2 separate regions of the Homo sapiens genome follow, and region 1 is linked to region 2. The links are contacts of gene promoters, found by promoter capture Hi-C in blood cells and fetal thymus (Javierre and others, 2016). All regions are on one chromosome and are shown on one strand. Each heading gives the region's core, a stretch centred on a gene start or on the middle of the fragment in contact. The rest is flanking DNA. Distances are from core to core; before and after follow the strand shown. Region 1 overlaps ABCC2 (ATP binding cassette subfamily C member 2). Region 2 holds the start of CPN1 (carboxypeptidase N subunit 1).

The links. The method cuts DNA at HindIII sites, captures the fragments that hold promoters and counts their contacts. A CHiCAGO score of 5 or more calls a contact.
Region 1: a fragment that was not itself captured here is called in contact with the fragment with the promoter of CPN1 in region 2 in 1 of 17 cell types (naive CD8 T cells); the score reaches 5.4 in naive CD8 T cells.

Annotation. Positions count from the first base shown.
Region 1 is chr10:99,797,658-99,801,391 of GRCh38, reverse strand. ABCC2 (ATP binding cassette subfamily C member 2) reads right to left here. Exons shown (of 32, transcript NM_000392.5): 8 at 2,022-2,185; 9 at 829-1,006. Among named protein-coding and RNA genes, the nearest start is that of ABCC2, 17 kb to the right of the region's middle. The HindIII fragment of the contact is 2,993 bases long and covers 230-3,222 here.
Region 2 is chr10:100,080,317-100,083,709 of GRCh38, reverse strand. CPN1 (carboxypeptidase N subunit 1) reads left to right here and starts at 1,841. Exons shown (of 9, transcript NM_001308.3): 1 at 1,841-2,307. The coding sequence starts at 2,085. The HindIII fragment of the contact is 7,883 bases long and covers 1-3,393 here.

The DNA of each region.
Region 1 (3,734 bases), core at 477-2,976, 280 kb after region 2:
GGTGGCACGTGCCTGTAGTCCCAGCTGCTTGGGAGGCTGAGGCAGGAGAACCGCTTGAACCCAGGAGATGGAGGTTGCAGTGAGCCAAGATTGCACCACTGCACTCCAGCCTCGGTGATAGAGCGAGACTCCATCTCAAAAACAACCAAAACAAAACAAAACAACAACAACAACAAACAATGTATCAGAGGGAAGATGAGCAAAATCATCTTAAGGAAATGAAAAAGCTTCCAGGTCTGCAGAACTCAGTAATCAGCATGAATGTATTTACAAACTGAAAAAAGAAGTCAGACAGAGGAGGTTTAGGTTAGCACTAAAGGTTAGAAAAAGAAGTTGCTAGGTGAAATTTGGTCTGGGGAGGTGGAGCTCCGGCAAGACTGCAATTTGAGATGGATACACCAGGTCTCTGAGCTGGATTTCATTAAGTATTTGAGTTAAATGTTGGTGGTTTTAAGAGTTTGACCCTTCACCAGCTTCTTTTCTGACCTTATATTCTTTTCCAAGGCATTTCACCTTGTCAAGAGAGGCAGGAAGAGATGGATGGGTAGCCAAGCCTTCAGGGCTGCAAGGTGGATCCTGAGCACCAGAACAGCTTGCAGGCTTCTCCCTGGGGAGTACGTTTTCCCTCCTGGCCTCTCCACCCATTGTCTGTGAACACACTTCTCAAAATCTAATTTCCAAAGAAACATCTAAAGGAGGCTGTATGGCCAGTCAACATTAAGTGTTGAGATAAGTTACCATTTCCATCACATTTTCCTCAACCTTGGAATCAATGCTCATATTTACTGAGGGGATTTTCTTTGGTGATACCTGCCGTATTCTGCTTACCTTCTTATATACAGAAGCCATGATAGCTGTCCGTACTTTTACACCCAGCTTGAAGCACAGTTGGAAATAACACTGAAGGCAGAAAGACTGAATGAGAGCCGCAGTGAATAAGAGGATTGCACAGAGATATCCAATCCACAAATATGTGTCACGGTCACTTGCAAAGGAGATCAGCAATCTGCCAGAGAAAAGCCAAGTTAGTTATACCCATAAGGCCTCCAAGGATGCCTCTCTCCTCATGCACAGCCAGCTAGACTACACTATCTTTACACTGTAGGTAACAAAAGTGACCAGAATTGTCCAAAGCCTTTGAAAGACCTAAGTCTACAGTTTTACCAGTGTCCTTTCTGTTTTGTTTTGTTTTTGATACAGGGTCTCACTCTGTTGCCCAGGCTGGAGTGCAGTGGCAGGATCATAGTTCATTAAGCCTCGAACTCCTGGGCTTAGGTGATCCTCCCACCTCAGCCTCCTAAATAGCTGGGTCTACAGGCATACGCCATCGCATCTAGCTAACTATTTTCTTTTGTAGAGATGGGGTCTCGTTATGTTGACCAGCCTGGTTTCTAACTCCTGGCCTGAAACAATCTTCCTGCCTCAATCTCCCAAACTGCTGAGATTACAGTCATGAGCCACCATGTCCAGCCTGGCGTTCTGGCTTTTACTTGGAGATGAGCAGCAAGAGCTTAGGGTTGATAACCCATGGCTGTGAGAATGGATAATGACAGAAATGCTCCACCTAGCTGTCACTGCAATGCTTTGGCCCTGTCTTTCCCTGCAGGTGGTTCACTCCACAGGTCATGACAGATTGTGAAGTCTTGTCAAGATTAACCTGAACCTCCCGTGGAAGGCTGCGATGGAGAGATGAAGTCAGTTACTCTCCAGGGGTATGCTACCCGCCACTTGGATCTGGCTCAGCCCTTAGCAGTTTAACAAGAAACAGCCCCTAACAATTACCCGGCCCCCTATGAGGAGACAGACATGGAAAAGAGAGAGGCTAAAGTACATATCATCATACATCTTGAAAACTGCCTGCGGTCTTCATGAACACAATGCTGTAAGGTTAAGGTGGAAGAAAATTACGAGCATTTTTAAAAAATGGGAATTTAAGAAAAGCTCCTGCTTGCATACACAGTGGCAAAAAGGAGGGTGGCAGAGGAGGCCCTGAAAGGACCATCTGAGGCCTGGAGACTCACTTCAGCAGCTGAGGACTCACAAACGTGAAGATGTCATTCACTAGCTTCAGTAGGAATGATTTCAGGAGCACCATGTAGAAAGTTTTGAACAGAGCCTTCATCAACCAGGATTTTGGAACATCTTTTTTGGTCCCAGACTTCTTTTTTTTCTTTTCAACATCTTCCTAGGTACAAAACCAAACAACAGTGTCCACAGAGTTATGTCTGTTACTGGCCTGAGCAGCTCCAGGGTGGTCAGCCTGTGAGCCCCGTGGCCTTCTCTGTACAGGTTTTGATCATCTCTCCCTGGCCTAGTTGCTTCTGCCCTTCTAGCTGCCTTCACTGTTCCACTCTCCCGCTCCTAACTGATACTTGTAATCTATTTTAGATTAGAAAACCAGGCAACTAAGCTGGTAAGAGTCCCATGTAAAAAGAGAGACCCATCTGCGTGGGGGCCTGAGGGGCAGTCCTGAGAGTGAAGGGCCTGGGCATGATGCTGAGAGGTCCTTTCTGTTCTTTTCATGCTTGTTCTTTTCATGGTTGCTGTGAGATGTTATGGGTTGAATTGTATCCCCACCCCCAAAAGCTATGTTGAAGCCCTAACCCCCAATACCTTAAAATGTGCCTTATTTCGAAAGAAGGTCTTTGCAGATGTAACCAAATTAAGATGAGGTCACTGGGGCCCTAATGCAGTATGATTGATATCTTTACAAGAAGAGAAGAGACAGACACAGAGAGAAGATGGTCCTGTGATGGTGGAGGCAGAGGTCAGAGTGATGCATCCAGAAGTTAAGGAATGCCAAGCATTGCTGGGGAACACTAGAAGGTGGAAGAGAGGATTTTCCCCTCCAGGTTTCAGCGGGAGCGAGTCTGATATCTTGACTTCAGCCTTCTGGCCTCCTGAGCTGGGGACAGTACATTTCTGTTTTAAGCTATCCAGTTGTGGTACTCTATCATGGCAGCCCTAGGAAACTAATACATGGGGCATTACGACTCAGTCACCAGCCTCTGTCTATGCTTTGGCCTCCTCATTATGTCCTCCTGAGTCTCATCTTGCCCCAAATTCCAGCTTCTCAGCCTACCAGTGATACTCTCTCACAATGTCTTTCACTGAGGTCCCATCTGATGGGTCTCCCTTGCCAGGACAACTGCCCTGGCCTCCCTTCTAGCTTCCATTCTTGCCCACAACGATCCATCCTCTGGGGAGCCGCCCAAGTAAGCTTTTCACAGCATGAATCCAGTCTCATTACTCCTCTGCTCAAAATCTTCCGCTGGCAATCAGACTTCAGACAAAGTCCAGATTCCTTATTGTGGCCCACAGGGGTCCACATAGCTTAATCCCTGTCCACTTCCTTGAGCCCATCTCACCCCATGCGCACCCTGTCCTGGATCTTCTTGCCATTCCCTGAGCAAGCCAAATGTGTTCCCCTCTCAGCCTCGCATGCCTGCTCCTTCTGACTGGAACACACTTCCCTCTGACTGTCCCTCAGAGGGCCTGATCTCATCATTTGAGTGTCTGTTCAGATGTCATCTCCTCTGAGAAGCTTCCCCTGTTACCCTGTCTCAAGTCGCACTTCACTCCAAATACACTATTGTTTTATTTTCTTAATAGCTATTATTACTTTCAAAGAGTAACCTATGTATGGGCTTACTACATATTTTCTAGCTCACAAAAGATGAGCAATCTTTTAGTGCCCAGAATGGTCACTGACACACAGTTGTGCTCAATAAATA
Region 2 (3,393 bases), core at 592-3,091:
TTTGTTCTATTGGGTACATACCCAGGAATGGAATTGTTGAGTTGTATGGTAAATTTATATTTAATTCTTTCAGAGGGCTGTACTTATTTTTTATTCCCTTTTAAAAACAGCTTTATTGAGATACAATTTGCATATCATAGAATTCATCTGTTTTAAGTATGCAATTCAATGAATTTTAGTATATTTATCGAGTTGTATAGACATCACCATCACCACAATCTAATTTTAGAACATTTCTATCACTCTAAAAAGAAATTTTGTGTCCACTTGTGGTGTTTTGGGTCTGGCTTCTTTTACCAGGCATGTGTAAGATTCATTCACATTGTACAATATATTAGCACTCCACTCCTTTTTATTGTCAAATACTATTTCATTGTATGGATATGCCATATTTTGTTTATCCGCTCAGTGGTTAATGGACATTTGGGTTGTTTCCACTTTTTGTCTCTTGTGAACAATACTGCTATGGACATTTATGTACAAGTTTTTGTGTGGATGTGTGTTTTCATTTCTCTTGCATAGGTACCTAGGAGTGAAACTGTTGTATTATATAGTAAGTATATATTTAACCTTGTAAGAAACTGCTAAACTGTTTTCCAAACTGGCTGTACTATTTATTTGTTTATCTTTATTTTTTATTTTTTTTGAGATGGAGTCTCGCTCTGTCACCAAGCTGGAGTGCAGTGGCGTGATCTCAGCTCACTGCAACCTCCTCCTCTCAGGTTCAAGCAATTCTCCTGCCTCAGACTCCTGAGTAGCTGGGACTACAGGCGTGTGCCACCATGCCCAGCTAATTTTTGTATTTTTAGTAGAGAGGGGGTTTTGCCATGTTTGCCAGGATGATCTCGATCTCTTGACCTCGTGATCCACCTGCCTCGGCCTCTCAAAGTCCTGGGCTACAGGCATGAGCCACTGCACCTGGTCTGGCTGCACTATTTATGAGGGTTCCAGTTTCTCCCTATTCTCACCAACATTTGTTATTGTCTGTCTTTTTTATTGTAGCCATTCTAGTGGAGGTAAAGTATATTTCATGTGTGATTTTTGTTTGTTTGTTTTTTGAGATGAGGTCTCACTCTGTTGCCCAGGCTGGAGTGTAGTGGCATGATCATGGCTCACTTCAGGCCCCACCACCCAGGTTCAAGTGATTCTCTGCCTCAGCCTCCCTAGTAGCTGGAACTACAGGCATGCCATCACACCCAGCTAATTTTAAAAATATTTGTAGAGGTGGGGTCTTGCTATGTTGCCCAGGCTGATCTCAAACTCCTGGGCTCAAGTGATCCTCCCAATTTGGCCTCCCAAAGTGCTGAGATTATAGGCATGAGCCACCATGACTGGATCTCATGTGGTTTTAATTTGTATTTCCTTAATGACTAATGACACTGAACATCTTTAAATGTGCTTATTAGCCATTTGTATATCTATTTTGGTCAAATGTTTTGCCCATGTTTTAATTGGGTTGTTTGTTTTCTTATTGTATTGTAAGGATTCTTTACGTATTATGGGGGTATTATCGGATACATGATTTACAATTGTTTTCTCCCAGTCCGAGGCTAATCTTTTCCTTTTCTTAATGGCATCTGTTGAAAGATTTTTGAGGAAAAAAAGGACAAAATACAGCCATGCTTCAGAAAGATAGGCAGGCAGCAGTACGTGGGATGGATCAAAAGGGACAGAGAACTCTTTTTGAAAGTTGTAATAAAAGGAACAGGCACAGGCCAAGTTTTAAAAAATTCTCCAGGAATCAAAGGGTTATAAGCAGCTATTTATTGAAGCCTGTTTACAGTCCAGTTAACCAGTAAACCAGAATCAGTGAAACTACCCATCTGGGGAAGTGCAAAAAACCTTTCAAAAGGCTTTCCTGGATTAGAGAAAGAAAGGGAGTGAGGGAGGAGAGATGAGTGGCTATTCCAGAACGACATAAAGAATTTCCAGCCTTGGACGGACAGCTGGGAACGTCTTCCAATTTGGACTGGTGTTTACAAGCGGGAAGCTAGGTGGACCTTGGATTTTGGCGGGTGAAGAGGCTAGGTTGTTTAAGGAGGTGGGGCGCGTTTCAGTGGCTCTCTTTGAAAAAGCCCAGCAAGATGTCAGACCTGCTCTCAGTCTTCCTCCACCTCCTCCTTCTCTTCAAGTTGGTTGCCCCGGTGACCTTTCGCCACCACCGCTATGATGATCTTGTGCGGACGCTGTACAAGGTGCAAAACGAATGCCCCGGCATCACGCGGGTCTACAGCATTGGGCGCAGCGTGGAGGGGAGACACCTCTACGTGCTGGAGTTCAGCGACCACCCTGGAATCCACGAGCCCTGTAAGTTCTGAACAGCTCTTGAGGGTGTGTGGGGCAGGGCCTTTCCCTTGCAAATCCAGTAATTGGAGTGGTTTCTGGGGTGGTCCGTGGACGCCTCCGCCTACAAGGTATTATCTCTTTCTCAGCCTGTGCTATTTCCCTCTTAGCCCTCAAACTGCCACTGCCTCTGGGGAGCTATAACCCTCCTTCAGCCTTCAGATCTTTCCTCCTTTTTGGGTTCTGTTTGCTCAAAACTTTAATGGTAAAAGATGAGTCTTCTTCCCTGCTCATGTCCCATATCCCTTCATTTCCCCCATTTCCTTTCTTTTCCCCTTACTATTGTTCTGTCTTTCCCCACCCAATGGCTCAGGAGACATAGGCAAAAACAATGAGCCCTTCTAGTTCTGCCAGGAAACTTAGAAGGGTATAGGGGAATCTCTTCGGGGAGTGACAGTGTGGTATTCCAGAGAGAGTTTGGGGACTTGGGTGTCAGTTTTATTTACTGGATTCTTTTTTATTTTTTATTTTTTTGAGACGGGGTCTGGCTCTGTTGCCCAGGCTGGAATGCAGTGGCATGATCTCAGCTCACTGCAGCCTCCACCTCCTGGGCTCAGGTGATCCTTTCCCCTCAGCCTCCTAGGTAGCTGGGACCACAGGCATGCACCAATACGCCCGGCTAATTTTTGTATTTTTAGTAGAGACAGGGTTTCATCATGTTAACCAGGCTAATCTCAAACTCCTGGGCTCAGGCGATCCACCCACCTTGGCCTCCCAGTGTTGGGATTACAGGCGTGAGCCACCGCACTTAGCCTGGATTCCTTTTTTTAGTTTGTTTCTACTGTAAAAGCAATCCATGTTTGGATTAAAATTTAGAGATTAGATAAGGAAAAAAAATAATAAAACTCACCCCAAATCCCACCACTGTTAATGTATTGATGTATATCCTTCCAGACTTTTTTCTATGCATATTTAAACCCTGACTCAAACACATGTAATTGTTTCTATAAAAATGAAATTGTATTATAACTGCCCTTCTCATTTCACAATCTGTTATGGATAGCATCCATGTCTATAAGTGCAGATCTACATCACTGTGGTTTTGGCTGT